Regions from separate parts of the Homo sapiens genome. Here region 1 is linked to region 2. Evidence: promoter capture Hi-C in human tissues and cell types (Jung and others, 2019). All regions are on one chromosome and are shown on one strand. The core of a region is centred on a gene start or on the middle of the fragment in contact, and the rest is flanking DNA. Distances in the headings are between cores, read along the strand shown.

Evidence for each region. The method cuts DNA at HindIII sites, captures the fragments that hold promoters and counts their contacts. A contact is called where the count stands out against the background at its distance.
Region 1: a fragment that was not itself captured here is called in contact with the fragment with the promoter of NPC2 in region 2 in 1 of the 25 tissues and cell types used here (hippocampus).

Annotation. Positions count from the first base shown.
Region 1 is chr14:74,116,481-74,123,653 of GRCh38, forward strand. All of the region lies in intron 5 of LIN52 (lin-52 DREAM MuvB core complex component), which reads left to right. The region is part of intron 1 of LOC105370563 (a long non-coding RNA gene); the gene reads right to left. Among named protein-coding and RNA genes, the nearest start is that of LIN52, 35 kb to the left of the region's middle. The HindIII fragment of the contact is 4,900 bases long and covers 3,233-7,173 here.
Region 2 is chr14:74,487,989-74,494,750 of GRCh38, forward strand. NPC2 (NPC intracellular cholesterol transporter 2) reads right to left here and starts at 5,317. Exons shown (of 5, transcript NM_006432.5): 1 at 5,205-5,317. The coding sequence starts at 5,286. It overlaps ISCA2 (iron-sulfur cluster assembly 2), which reads left to right and starts at 5,777. Exons shown (of 4, transcript NM_194279.4): 1 at 5,777-5,857; 2 at 6,062-6,164; 3 at 6,287-6,402. The coding sequence starts at 5,787. RefSeq lists enhancers at 1-1,001, 5,780-5,859 and silencers at 5,070-5,129, 5,300-5,579. The HindIII fragment of the contact is 6,262 bases long and covers 2,013-6,762 here.

The sequences.
Region 1 (7,173 bases), core at 4,433-6,932, 370 kb before region 2:
GGATCATTTGAGATCAGGAGTTCGAGACCAGCCTGGCCAAGCTGGTGAAACCCCGTCTCTACTAAAAATACAAAAATTAGTCACTCGTAGTGGTGGACACCTGTAATCCCAGCTACTCTGGAGGCTGAAGCAGGAGAATCACTTGAACCTGGGAGGTGGAGCTTGCAGTGAGCTGCCAAGATTGTGCCACTGCACTCCAGCCTGGGTGACAGAGTAAGACTATGTCTCTAAAAAAAAAAAAAAGAAAAGAAAAAAAGCACTAAAGGGCATTTCATGACAGAAAGGTATTCATTATATATAAGGATAATAGCAAGTGACAAAATGCAGAACATACAATTTTACAGCAGGTGTTTTTTTTTTTTTTTCTTTTGAGAGCATGGACATAGACAAATGGCTGGAAGGAAATACACCAGTATGTTTTAATGACTATCTTGAGTGGTTTTTAAAATTTTCTGAATTTTCCAAATTAACAAAAACACATTCTAGTCTGTTGAATAGGAAAAAAATACTACTTAAAAAAATAAGGAAAAGTTGTATGCCATTTTAGAAACAAAATTGTACTTAAATCTCTGAATTTTCTAGGCAGTTAAATTTTTGAGCTCTTCTGTGGACTGTTTCTAAATAAAAATGAGTAGATCCATTAACAATTGATCAGTTTATACAAGTGATAAATAGCAAGGTGAATGTTTCCCATACATATCTCATTTCCCATACTCAGGATGTGCTTGCATAAGTAGGAATTGAGAGCAAAAGAAATGGTAGGCTGTTGGGTCATGGGCAAGAGACGATTTAGTTGGCCAAAGAAGCATATTTTCTTAAGCAAATGTTGGCCAAGATGTTACTTTATGTTTTCGGGCTGTCTTCACTGTAGTTGGAGAACTGTGAACTCTTGGTATTAAGTACTCAGTAGGAGCAAAGAACCATTTGGAATGTCTGTCAATCTTAAATAGAACTGCAGCTGTTTGGCTGAGAGGTGAAATGGACCTGGATTTCTTTTTTTTGGCGGGGGGGCTTTGAAAGTAGTTTTTGTATAACAAAGAGGTGATGAGAACTAAAGTGATTACAAAAGTGTTCATAGGAGTTCAGTTTCTTTCCAGGCTTTGGGTTTAAGAATGACTGTTTCTGCCCATGGGGAAATAAATTGGCATTTTTCTGCTTTCGTTTGTTTTTTAGTTATTGATGTTCTAGAAATTTCAACAAAATAAGGAGTGTTTTTGTATTTCAAATGTAGTGCCCGTTTCTTTATTTCTTTCTGGTACTTTCCACTGGTTTGTGTTGATAATATGATCTGGAAGGTAGCGATAATGCATGGGAATTTATAAATGATCACAAAATACTTTGTCACAGGAAATCTGGAGAAATAATGACTTTGGCATATGTATAAGAGAAGTATCTCTAACTGTTAAGTCTAAACTAAAAGCTTGTTACTTTTCGGTTTGGTATAACCAAAAAAAATTTGAAAAATAAAATAGAAGTAATGATTTGTTTTCTCAGGTGTAGTTGTATTTGACTGACTCTATTGTAGGAGGACACGTTTAAGACTGAATGGTTGGATAACGGTAAAGACGTCCTTTCAATGGAGAGTTGAATCTGATAGGTTGAAGTTTTGGATATTGAATGAAAAGAGAAAAGAGAGCCGGACAAGCTGAAAATTCCTGTAGTTCCAACTACTGGGGAGGCTGAGGTGGGAGGATCACCTGAGCCCAGGAGTTTGAGACTGCAGTGAGCTATGATCATGCCACTGCGTTCCAGTCTGGATGACAGAGTGAGACCCTGTGTCAAAAAATAAGTAAATAAAAAGAGGAAAGAGCTAAAATGAGAATTCAATCTGATTCAGAATATAAAAATATTCTACTGTCCCATCATTTTTTGTTCTTTAATAAGCTTTAACATTGAAGTATAATGTATATAAAGAAAAGCACACAAATTATAATGTACAACTCAATGATTTTCATAAAATTAACACTCCCCTGTAACCGTTGGTCAAAACAGATCAAGATACAGAACGTTGCGCCTGGTGCTGTGGCTCATGCCTGTGATCCCAGCACTTTGGGAGGCTGAGGCTGGCAGATCACTTGAGCTCAGGAATTCCAGACCAGCCTGGGCAACATGATAAAATCCAGTGTCTACAAAAAATACAAAAATTAGCCGGGCCTGCTGGTGTACACCTGTAGTCCCAGCTACTTGGGAGGCTGAGGTGGGAGGATCACCTGAACCTGGGAAGTCAAGGCTGGAGTGAACCAAGATCACACCATTGTACTCCAGCCTGGGTGACAGGAGTGAGACCCTATCTCAAAACAAAACACCTTTCTAGTACATAAATACAAAATCTCCTTTGTGCCCCTTCTAGTCCCTACTTGCCCCTTCCTCTCAAAGCATTACTGTGACTTATACTATCATAGAATAATTTTGTTTATCTTTGAACTTTATGTAAATGGAATAACAAATCACATACTCTTTTGTGTCTGACTTTTGATCAGCGTTTAAATTATGACATCGGCCATATCATTTGGGTTTTCTCCCATTGCTATATAGTATTTCATTGTAAGAAGTTACCACAATTTATTTCCTCGTTCTACTAATGATGGATATTTGGACTATTTCCAGCTTTTGGTTATTACAAATAAATACTGTTAGTATTTTTGATATATATCTTTTTTTGGTACATGGATTTTCTTTCTTTTTTTTTTTTTTTTTTTGAGACAGAGTCTTGCTCTGTTGCCCAGGCTGGAGTGCAGTGGCACCATCTTGGCTCACTGCAAGCTCCGCCTCCTGGGTTCATGCCATTCTCCTGCCTCAGCCTCCCGAATAGCTAGGACTACAGGCGCCCCCCCACCACGCCCAGCTAATTTTTTTTGTATTTTTAGTAGAGACAGGGTTTCACTGTGTTAGCTAGGATGGTCTCGATCTCCTGACCTCGTGATCCGCCCGCCTTGGCCTCCCAAAATGCTGGGATTACAGGCATGAGCCGCCGCACCTGGGCCGTACATGCATTTTCATTGGATATATAACTAGGAAGTGGAATTGCTAGATCATAGGGGTATATGTATATTTAGCTTTAGTAGGTACTTCCAAATATTAATAGTTTTCCAAAGTGGTTATATCAATTTACAAACCTATCAGCAATTTCAGTTGCTCCAAGTCCTTACCAACAGGTGTATTCTCAGTCTTTTAACTTCTAGTCGTTCTAATAAATGGTATCTTAATGTGGTTTTAATTTGCATTTCCTTAATGACTAATGAGGTTGAGCACCTTTTTGTATGTTTATTGGCCATTTGGATAACATCTTTTGTGAAGTCCTTATTAGTGTCTCTTGCCCATTGCCCATCTTTAAAAACTGGATTACTGGATTATTCTTTTTTTTTTTTTTTTTAGATGGAGTTTCACTCTTGTCGCCCAGGCTGGAGTGCAATGGCACGATCTCAGCTCACTGCAATGTCTACCTCCTGGGTTCAAGCGATTCTCCTGCCTCAGCCTCCCAAGTAGCTGGAATTACAGGTGCACGCTACCACGTGTGCCTAATTTTTGTATTTTTAGTAAAGATGGAGTTTCACCATGTTGGCCAGGCTGGTCTCAAACTCATGACCTCGGGTGATCCGCCTGCCTCGGCCTCCCAAAGTGCTGGGATTACAGACATGAGCCACTGAGCCTGGCTTGGATTATCAGTCTTTAAAAAAATGATTTGTAAGTACTGTTTATATATTCTGGATATCCACCCTTTGTCAGTCACATAAATTGCAAATATTCCACTTTGTAGCTTCCCTTTTAATTTTCTTAATGGTATGTTTTAATGAACCAAAGAGTTTTTTCCCCCAACTTTTTATTTGTTGAAATTTGAAATCTTTAAAAAAGTTTTGGCCAGGCGCAGTGGCTCATACCTGTAATCCCAGCACTTCGGGAGGCCAAGGCCGGTGGATCACCTAAGGTCAAGAGTTCGAGACCAGCCTGACCAATATGGTGAAACACTGTCTCTACTAAAAATACAAAAAGTAGGCCAGGCGTGGTAGCTCACACCTGTAATCCCAGCACTTTGGGAGGCCGAGGTGGGCAGATCACCTGAGGTCAGGAGTTCGAGACCATCCTGGCCAGCATTGTGAAACCCCGTCTCTACTAAAAATACAAAAATTAGCCGGGCTTGGTGGTGGGTGCCTGTAATCCCAGCTACTCGGGAGGTTGAGGCAGGAGAATCGCTTGAACCTGGGAGGCGGAGGTTTCAGTGAGCCGAGATCGTGCCATTGCACTCCAGCCTGGGCAACAGAGTGAGACTCCCTCTCAAAAAAAAAAAAAAAAAATTAGCTGGGCTTGGTGGCGTGCGCCTGTAGTCCCAGCTACTCAGGAGGCTGAGACAGGAGAATCACTTGAACCCAGGAGGAGGAGGTTGCAGTGAGCCACTGCATTCCAGCCTGGGCAACAGAGCGAGACTCTGTCTCAAGAAAAAAAAAAGTTTCAAGCCAGGCTCAGTGGTATGCACCTGTAGTTTCAGCTACTCTGGATGCTGAGGTGGGAGGATCATTTGAGCCCAGAAGTTTGAGTCCAGCCTAGGTAACACAGGGAGACTCTGTCTCAAAGAAAGAAAAAAAGCTTAAAACTATTCCAAAAAAAACCATGTAGTAGGCACAAGTATTTCTAAAAATAAACTATACACAGTAGATTTTCCCCTTGGAGTCAAGTTGTAAATTCTATCAGCAGAGCATTGACCTAAATCATTATAACCCAACAGAAATCAGTGGCTCCCATATAATTCCCAGAGGTTTCCCTGTCCCCACCCAAACAACTTTTCTCTATTCAGCAATTCTCCATTGCTTAGATCTGCTGTTTCCATTCTATATTATTGATTTACTCTATATTTCTTATACCACTAGCCATAATGATTTTCATGCATGTAACAAACAGATTTCATCTATTGATTTCATAAGTAAGTGATGCAAGTTTTAATGACTAATGTGAGACTAACATTTTCCTTATTCGTTCCTTTCCAATTCTAAGATACTTTAATGCATCAACTGAATAGTGAAGTCATTATTGCAAATGCTTTTATCACATAGTGCCGAAGTTAGTTAGCAAATAGTTAAAGAAAATAGTTAAAGATGCTTTGGTTTTTCCAGGAAAGTGGTTTTCCAAAAATTTTCAAATAATGATGGTAATACATTAAAAAATATATCACTCAACAAGTTTGTCAGAAAACTTACACATCAAATCAAGAAAACAGTGAGTTAAGGAAAGAGGAAAACACACCTTCACTTTCTTTTTTTTTTTTTTTTAAGACGGAGTCTCACTCCGTCACCCAGGCTGGGGTGCAGTGGCGCCATCTCAACTCACTGGAACCTCTGCCTCCCGGGTTCAAGTGATTATCCTGCCTCAGCCTCCCGAATAGCTGGGATTACAGGCGCGCACACCACGCGTGGCTAATTTTTGGATTTTTAGTGGAGACGGGGTTTCACCATGTTGGACAGGCTGGTCTCAAACACACCTTCACTTTCTCCACTGGAATTTTTGTTTATCATGTAACCAGTAACAATATTCTCATATTCCCATGAGAAGAGGTTGAGGAAGAAAAGAATTCACACTAGTAATGTAGTATTTTATTTCTGAGATGCTACAGCTTTGACATTATTATAACCCAAATTAAAAGAACAGGAGTGTCATTAACCAAAAAGGAGAATATTGCTAAACGGAACTGTAGTAAAATTTAAAACTTATGTTCAAATTGGAGATATTTTATTATGGATTGAAAATCAGATAATTGTATTGTGTTAAATTTTTTGAGTTTGTTAATTATATTGTAGCTATGTAGGAGAATATCCTTGTTCTTAGGAGACAATGCTGAAGTATTTAGGGATGAACTATCATGGTGTCTGCAGCTAGCTCTCAGATAGCTCAGGAATAAAACAACAAAATTTAAAAATATAAATAGATGAAGCAAGTGTGTAATGTTAACAGTTGGTGAGCAGGTGAAGAGTATATGATTATTCATTGTAGTATTCTTTGTTTCTATTTTATTTAAAATATGTTAGGATATTTTAGGCTCTAGAAAATTTCACTGGACACTTGTGAGAGTATGAGTGAAAAGAGCATCTTAGTATTATACAAATAATTTTTACCTGTCCGGGTGCAGTGGCTCACACCTGTAATCCCAGTACTTTGGGAGGCCAAGATGGGCAGATCACTTGAGGTCAGGAGTTTGAGATCAGCCTGACCAACATGGTGAAACCCTGTCTCTACTAAAAATATAAAAATTAGCTGGGTATGGTGGCAGGCACCTGTAATCCCAAATACTTGGGAGGCTGAGGCAGGAGAATTGCTTGAACCTGGGAGGCAGAGGTTGCAGTGAGCCAAGATCATGTGCTACGGCACTCCAGCCTGGGTGACAGAGTGAGACTCTGTCTCAAAAAAACAAAACAAACAAACAAAAACAAAAACAAAAACCAGTTTTGACCTAGTGGACCCCCAAAAGAAGTATGGCGAGCCCAGGATCTGCAGGTGTTCCCTGACCACACTTTGAGATTTGTTGCCTTAGAGTATTATTTTGATGATTTGATACAGCCTTATTTATAAAACTCTTAGCTCACTGTCTGGATCTTAATAAGTTCTTAAAAACTATTAACTGTTGTTACTCTTATGAGCAGCATATGAGAAATTTTAAGCATGGTAGACATCTGATCATATTTACATTCTTAGGTCACTTTGCTAACATGGTAGAAGGTAGATTGGTGAGGAATGAAAATAGCAACAGGGAGATGAGTTAGATTACTTTAGTAAACTAGACTACAATGGTAAGCCCTTGAACTAAGACAGTAGAAATATTACTGGAGCATAAAGGATGGGTTCTATAAATCCTAGTAGGAGAATGGAAAGTTTTAGTGACTGATTGGATATATTGGGATTGGGAAGTCCTGGGCAGTAAGAATGAGGAACCAAGAACAATTCTTAGGTTTCTAGCTTAGGTGTATATAGGAAGAAGAAGACCTTTGAGAAGAAAGATTTGGGAGTTCATTTATAAGTGTATCTGTAGGCTATCTAGGTGGAAATAAATACCTAGGAGACAATTGAATAGATACTAGAGCACAGGGAATTTGGATCCTTGATCCATAGGTTTTATTTAAAGCCATAGATGAGAGAAGCCAGGAGGATGTGTAGCATTAAATATAGAACCGTGGTGTGGTAGGCACCCTC
Region 2 (6,762 bases), core at 4,067-6,566:
TGACTTGGAAGCCCTTGTTACCGGAACCTGAAAGAAGCTTTAAATACGCAGCCATGTTGATGAATGGAAGGACACCCCAAGGAAATTTGCATCTGAGAACTACTTGAGGACTCTGGATGAAGGTCTGTCTCAAACTCAACTTTTCAGGTTTCTTAATTCAGCATCGCCTCTTTGCCCCTCACCATGATTCTCTTTCTATCGTAGAGGTTCAACCCCTATATCCTCTGTGATTTTCAGTGATGAAGTATCTTCTATCCAGATTTTGTACCCTTTCTCCCAAACTGCTGGTAAATCCTTTGCCCAGTATTTTGTCTTCCTGGAATCCCTTCTTTCTTTCACCCCAACTTGACTTCCTAGAGAAATAAGCAGCACTATTAAAGGTATAGGTAAAACGATGAAAAGTGTCAGAATATCAGTCTTGGCTTTTAAAATTAGGCTGATTCAAGGGTGGGCATGGTGGCTCATGCCTATAATCCCAGCACTTTGGGAGGCCAAGGCAGGTGGATCAAGAGGTTAAGAGTTCGAGACCAGCCTGACCAACATGGTGAAACCTCGTCTCTAATAAAAATACAAAAATTAGCCAGGTATGGTGGTGCTCACCTGTAATCCCAGCTACTCAGGAGGCTGAGGCAGGAGAATCGCTTGAACTGGGGAGGCAGAGGTTGCAGTGAGCCGAGATTGCGCCACTGCACTCCAGCCTGGGTGACAGAGCAAGACTCTGTCTCAAAAAATAAAATAAAATAAAATAAGACTGATTCCAGAAGCCTACTCACTTCCGAGTAAGCAGACTATGGAATTTAAGAGGAACTACCACTTAACACTGAACAGAGGAGTGACCCTAAACAGAAAAACCACCTACCATCTCTGAACTAGGAATGACCCTTAAGAGAGGAACTACCTCCCACTTCTGAATTGGGAACTGCACCATTTTCACTGCACTTCTGCAGTTTCTTCAATGATTTAGTCCTGTTCTTTAAGGCCCACTTATGAGTCATGAAATATTTTGGCTCCAAAAACAACAGGAAGTACCTTAAATCTTGACTAAGGTTGTTAAGATCTGGATTTTTTCCAAGAATCAAGGGGATGAAGAGGAGTACAGAGGTTAAGGTCTTTATAGTTTCAGTACAAGCTTAGGGCACAAGTTAAGCTTAACTCCAAATAGCACTGACTCACACAGCCAAGATGGCAGAAGTGCCAGCTGCATTAAAGAAGAATACTGCTACCTGAGTCTGGGTTTCATTTCCTCTGAAATATTAACTTGGCCTAGGTCTATATAGCTGCTGGGAATGATACACTTGCAAATACTGCATATGTTAAAAACATAAGGATGAGACCTAAGAAGGTACTAGAAAGAGTCAGAAATAGGATTTATCCCTGGGAATCCTCAAAACAAATACATATTTTTCAAAATTAAAAAATTTAAGAAAAGAAATTGGATTCATCTGACTTGTCCAGGTTGTTTCTAAGTAGTTTCAAAAACTGATTTTAAGCACACATCTGCAATCTACAGATGTATACTCGATTTTGGGAACCTGCGTTCTTAAAATAAGTGTGTGTGTGTGTGTCTGTGTGTGTATGTATGTATTTTAATCTCAGTCTAACCAAGGACAAAAGTACTTGTATACAATAAATGCTTGACCAAAAAAGGTTTAAATAAAGCCTTTAAAAATCCCATTTCCTCCTGCCCCAGAGACTGGGCAGTTGAATGGGAGAGAATGCAGGTGAACTGCCTGATAACAGTGCCTGTAACAGGGTAAGTTAAGTTCTGCCATTCAGCCATCATTGCTGAGAGGCAGACTCTGGTGCCGGATGCCTGGGTTTGAAATCTCACTATCTCTGCTACTTACTGTATAGCCTCAAGGCAAGATACTTTACCTCTCTGGAGATAATGGTGTAGCTGAGCTAACACAAATACAGATCTTAGGTAAGTGTTTGGAACATAGTGATACATATATTTACTATTATTATCATATCTGGATTTAGTCCATGAGTTTAATCTAGAATAGCTGCTCCTGGGTAGGTTAGCAAGTTCCCTTCTGACACAAAAACTGGACCTCTCACCTCAAATATACTTTGTGGATAGAAATTATGTTTCTAGCCAATAGGATGGACTCTTTCTGTCTCAAAAGTGGAATGCATGAAGACAGAGGCAAACTGCAGGTTGAGAGTACATTATCTGCTATGCAGTCAGTCACCAGATTAGCTCAGTACTATAAAAGTATGATATGAACTCAGAAATCTAAGTAGATGTTCTTTGCTGCCTGTACCTACCCTTGGGTGGAACAGTCTCTTTAACTATCATCACACTGACCAACACTGCTCCAGCTAGGTCAGTAAATAGTACCTTGCAGTCCTTTATCCCTCAGCTTGCTTCTCCATCATTGCAAAGTTCTTAAACTGCACACACTCTTAAGCATCCAAAACAGTTTGAGAAACACTCTCTTCCACTCCAACCCATTTTTGGTGAATAGGGAAAAAAGAAATCCCGAACTTCAATCAACAATCTATTGAAAATCAGTGCTAATGTTAAGGCTTTCAATGTCCAGCTTCCACCTGCTTCTTTCAAGGCTGAGTCACATAATCTAGTAGGAAGTAAGTAAAGGGTAGTACTTATAGCTCTTTCATCCAGTTTTCTGATGACAAGAGGTTCTTAGACTTCCAGTGTCAATAGAACAAACTCCTCTGTTCTAACCAGCAAACATTACAAAATTAGTTTGCTTGGTCCACTTTCTCACTTGAGGAAATCCCACGCCAGGGAAGGTGGGTGTAGAGTGGAACACAAAAATCTTTGATGTGGGCACTGAAGTCTTTATATCATATTTCCCAATTCAAAAGTAAATTATAAATCTGTAACTGAAACCCTTCTTCCCTTTAAAAGCTTCTTCCCATAGGTGTACTCCTGCTTTTTCAAATAAGTAGAATAATTTCTGGATTTATTTCCCTTCTTTTTTTGGAAACCCAAAGTGGCTCACAAAGACCCACGGTTTCCTACCACTTACTGGGTGTGAGATCTTGGGCAAGTTACTCTATGTGCTTCGCTTTCCTCATCTGTAAGACAGCTTGTGAGGATGGAATGAGTTATTTTATTTTATTTTATTTTTTTGAGACGGAGTCTTGCTCTGTCGCCAGGCTGGAGTGCAGTGGCGTGATCTTGGCTCACTGTAACCTCCACCTCCCGGGTTCAAGCGATTCTCCTGCCTCAGCCTCCCGAGTAGCTGGGACTACAGGTGCACACTACCATGCCCAGCTAATTTTTGTATTTTTAGTAGAGATGGGGTTTCACCATGTTGGCCAGGATGGTCTCAATCTCTTGACCTCGTGATCTGCCCGTCTTGGCCTCCCAAAGTGCTGGGATTACAGGTGTGAGCCACTGTGCCTGGCCGGAATGAGTTATTAAAATTAATAGTGTCTTCATCCAAACGCTGGCTACTAAGTTTAATGGAGGGAAAGGCAGTAATTTGAAGCGATAATAGCTTTCAAGTGCCAGTCTCCTAAATCAATGGAATAGCATTTAAGTGTTAATCGGCCAGCACTCCATTCCTTAATCAATCCTGTCCCCTAATCCCCAACTTTGCTTTTGTCTCAACATGAATTTTTATGACATAGGGGAAAAAGATTTCCATCTATGTTTTCAACACATTTCATTGAGCAGTTACTATTACCTGGGCACTGGATATAAAGCAGCAAACTTATGAAACCGCCTTTGCAAAAATCCTGAGGAAATTAAGACAGTGAAAGAGATCAGGACTCACCTACCCATCTTCCTTCTAACCTCTAAACTGTCTTTGTTCATTCCTGGGTGTAGGCTGAACTAGTCTTGGAGAGGAATTTATAGTTTAAACTCTGAAACGAAATGGATAATAGCCCTTTCCTGAAAAACCCCTTCTTGCCTGGGGACCGGTCTGCCTTTGTAGGACTAACAAATTAGCTACGAGTTTAGGGGCCACGCCGCCTCTGGCTGTAAGAGTCTGAACCTCCCCAAATTGCTCCTGGTAATGATATCACTATTGTAAAACCTAAGGTCAGTGCTTGAGATATTTTGCAGATCCTGCATTCCGATGCAGCAAATGACACCACCCAGAGGTCAGCAAGAAGAACTCACTTCGACTCTCCTATGATTTTATCTTCAACCTGACCAATCAGCACTCCCCACTTTCCAAGCCCATACCCGCCAAATTATCCTTAAAAACTCTGATCCCCGAATGCTCGGGGAGACTGATCTGAGTAACAATAAAACTCCGGCCTCCCCCACAGCCGGCTCTGCGTGAATTACTCTTTTCGCCACTGCAAATCCCATCTTGATAAATCCGCTCTGTCTAGGCAATGCGCAAGGTGAACCCCTTGGGCGGTTACACTTACTCTGGCTCCCCATTCTGCTGCGTGACTTTAGGTAGGCTACCCAACATCCCTGGAATTCAATGATTGATTATACGATCTCCGTGCTTCCTTTCCACTCATAGATCTTACAAAGTCAGTTTCATGCCTCTTTCATTGACAGTTCTATCTCTCTATCTCCACCTCTGAACAACATTGCTCGAGTTTCTGTTCCGACAATTCTATAGACTCGACTCAATGAAGGCACTCAGAATTTCTACCACCTGTTGTATTTTCCAACAAAGATTCCAACCACAGCGGCGAGAGGGAGTTATGTATCACAAGCTGTGATTAGAGACACAATGAGATTTATACAAGGAAAAACTGATTAAGAATCACAAGATTCCAAAGCCCAAAGGAAGTCCTATTTGTAACAATAAATGATGAAAAAGGGGAATTGACTTTTGACTTGTCAGCAAAAACGAAATTAAAAGAAAAGCAAAAGGAGTTGGAAGGGGGAGGCGGGATTCCAAGATACAAAGCATAAATAAAAAGAAGTTCTGTGCTCCACCCCTCCACCAGAGCTGGATACAGCCCTTCTGTTGTCCGCCCTACAAACTTTAGGAAACTTCAGCAAAAGGCCCACCTCCTGGAGTTCCCAGGAACCCCAAAACACGCGTTCTAAGGAAAGAAACAAAGTTGTGCGCGGTCGGGTTTCATGGAGGCCGGCGCCTTCTCCCCCGACCCAGCCCATTCCAGTTAGGTAGGGTCCAAGGCTCAGCCTGGCCGCCCGAGGGATCCGCCCAGCCCAGCCCCAGGGGTCTCAGCGCGGGGGTCCGGCGGGGCCTTCCACAGAGGGCGCGGGAACCTTGGGCGGGCCTGGGGCTCACCGCAGTCCTTGAACTGCACCGGTTCGGCCTGGGCAGCGGTGCTGAGCGCCAGGAGCAGGAATGTAGCTGCCAGGAAACGCATCGCGGATAACGAAGTTCCAAGCTCGGGAAAGAAGCAGCGGCCGCCCGCGGTCACAAGACAAACCTGTCGGGGCGGGCCCGGGGAGGAGCCCAGTCAGGCGACCTGTCACCAGTAACCACAGCTGAGGCCCGCCCGCGCCCCGCCCCCGGCTCCGGAAAGCCAGCTCCAGCCCTCTCAGGCCCAGAAGCCTGCAGTCTCCGCCCATGCCATCCCCTCAGAGGCCTGACCCGCCCGGACCCACCTCCGCCCCGCCCCGCCTCACTCCTCCCCGCCCCGTTCCTTCCCTTTAGAGCACCTCTCCGGCTTCCTGGGTGCGTCCCCGCCGCTGCCGTCTGGAGCATTCCTAGCCAATCAGACACCTTCTCCTCCCGCACTACCCAATAGGCATGTTGGGGGGGCGGGGCCTCCGTGAAGTCCCGGCCTCCTGTTCGTTCTCTCCGCCTCCCGAGGCCCCGGGTGAGAAACGGGGGAGACGCGAGGGGCGGAGCTTGTGGAGGAAGATGGCTGCCGCCTGGGGGTCGTCCCTAACGGCCGCGACGCAGAGAGCGGTCACTCCCTGGCCGAGGGGCAGGTACCAAGACTAGAAAGGCACCTGGAAAGGGTGTTTGGTTCTGCGCCTCTAGGACAAATGGGAAACTAAGGCCTGTGGGGGATGCGAGGGTTTGGTGGGAGGCCGTCCAGGTGGGGGTCGCCAGGTTTAGCGTGAGGCGCTCCAGGTCGAGGGTTGCAAGGTGCCCCTTCTGCTCCCGGGCTCACCCTCCTCCCTTGCGCGCAGGCTCCTCACGGCCTCCCTGGGACCCCAGGCGCGTCGGGAGGCGTCGTCCTCCAGCCCCGAGGCCGGCGAAGGGCAGATCCGCCTCACAGACAGTTGCGTCCAGGTAGGAGGCCGGACGCGGAGCGGCGGTACCCAGGCGATTGGCGGGAGCAGCGGGAACTGCTCTTCACTCAGCCCTTTAACTCCCGTTTCCCGCTATTCTTGATCCCCCTTCCTGCATTTCAGAGGCTTTTGGAAATCACCGAAGGGTCAGAATTCCTCAGGCTGCAAGTGGAGGGAGGTGGATGCTCCGGATTCCAATACAAATTTTCACTGGATACAGTTATCAACCCCGACGACAGGCAAGGAGGAAGGGGTGGGCCCCCAAAGGAGGTACAGGAGGGACAAAAGTGTCTCCAGTTTAAGGTGCACTTTTATTCCAAATTTAAAGGGTTTACCTGGGATGGTTAACACCGCCCGTCTCACAGTGAGGATGCAGTAAAGGTTTGTTGTTCTGAATCAAAGTAACTAAGTTATAGGAGCAAAATTGATCTGCCCAGGTCCATTGGGTAGTCGGTAGAAAGTCAGGCCGGACTAGATTCCAGGCTTAAGTCCCTACACGTTTCCCAGTATTTATTCCATTGAATCATTTTGCCTCAAAGAAAATCAGCACCTGTTAAAGGTAATGGGGAAGCTCCCTCTGTACTTTAGAAAACAGAGGA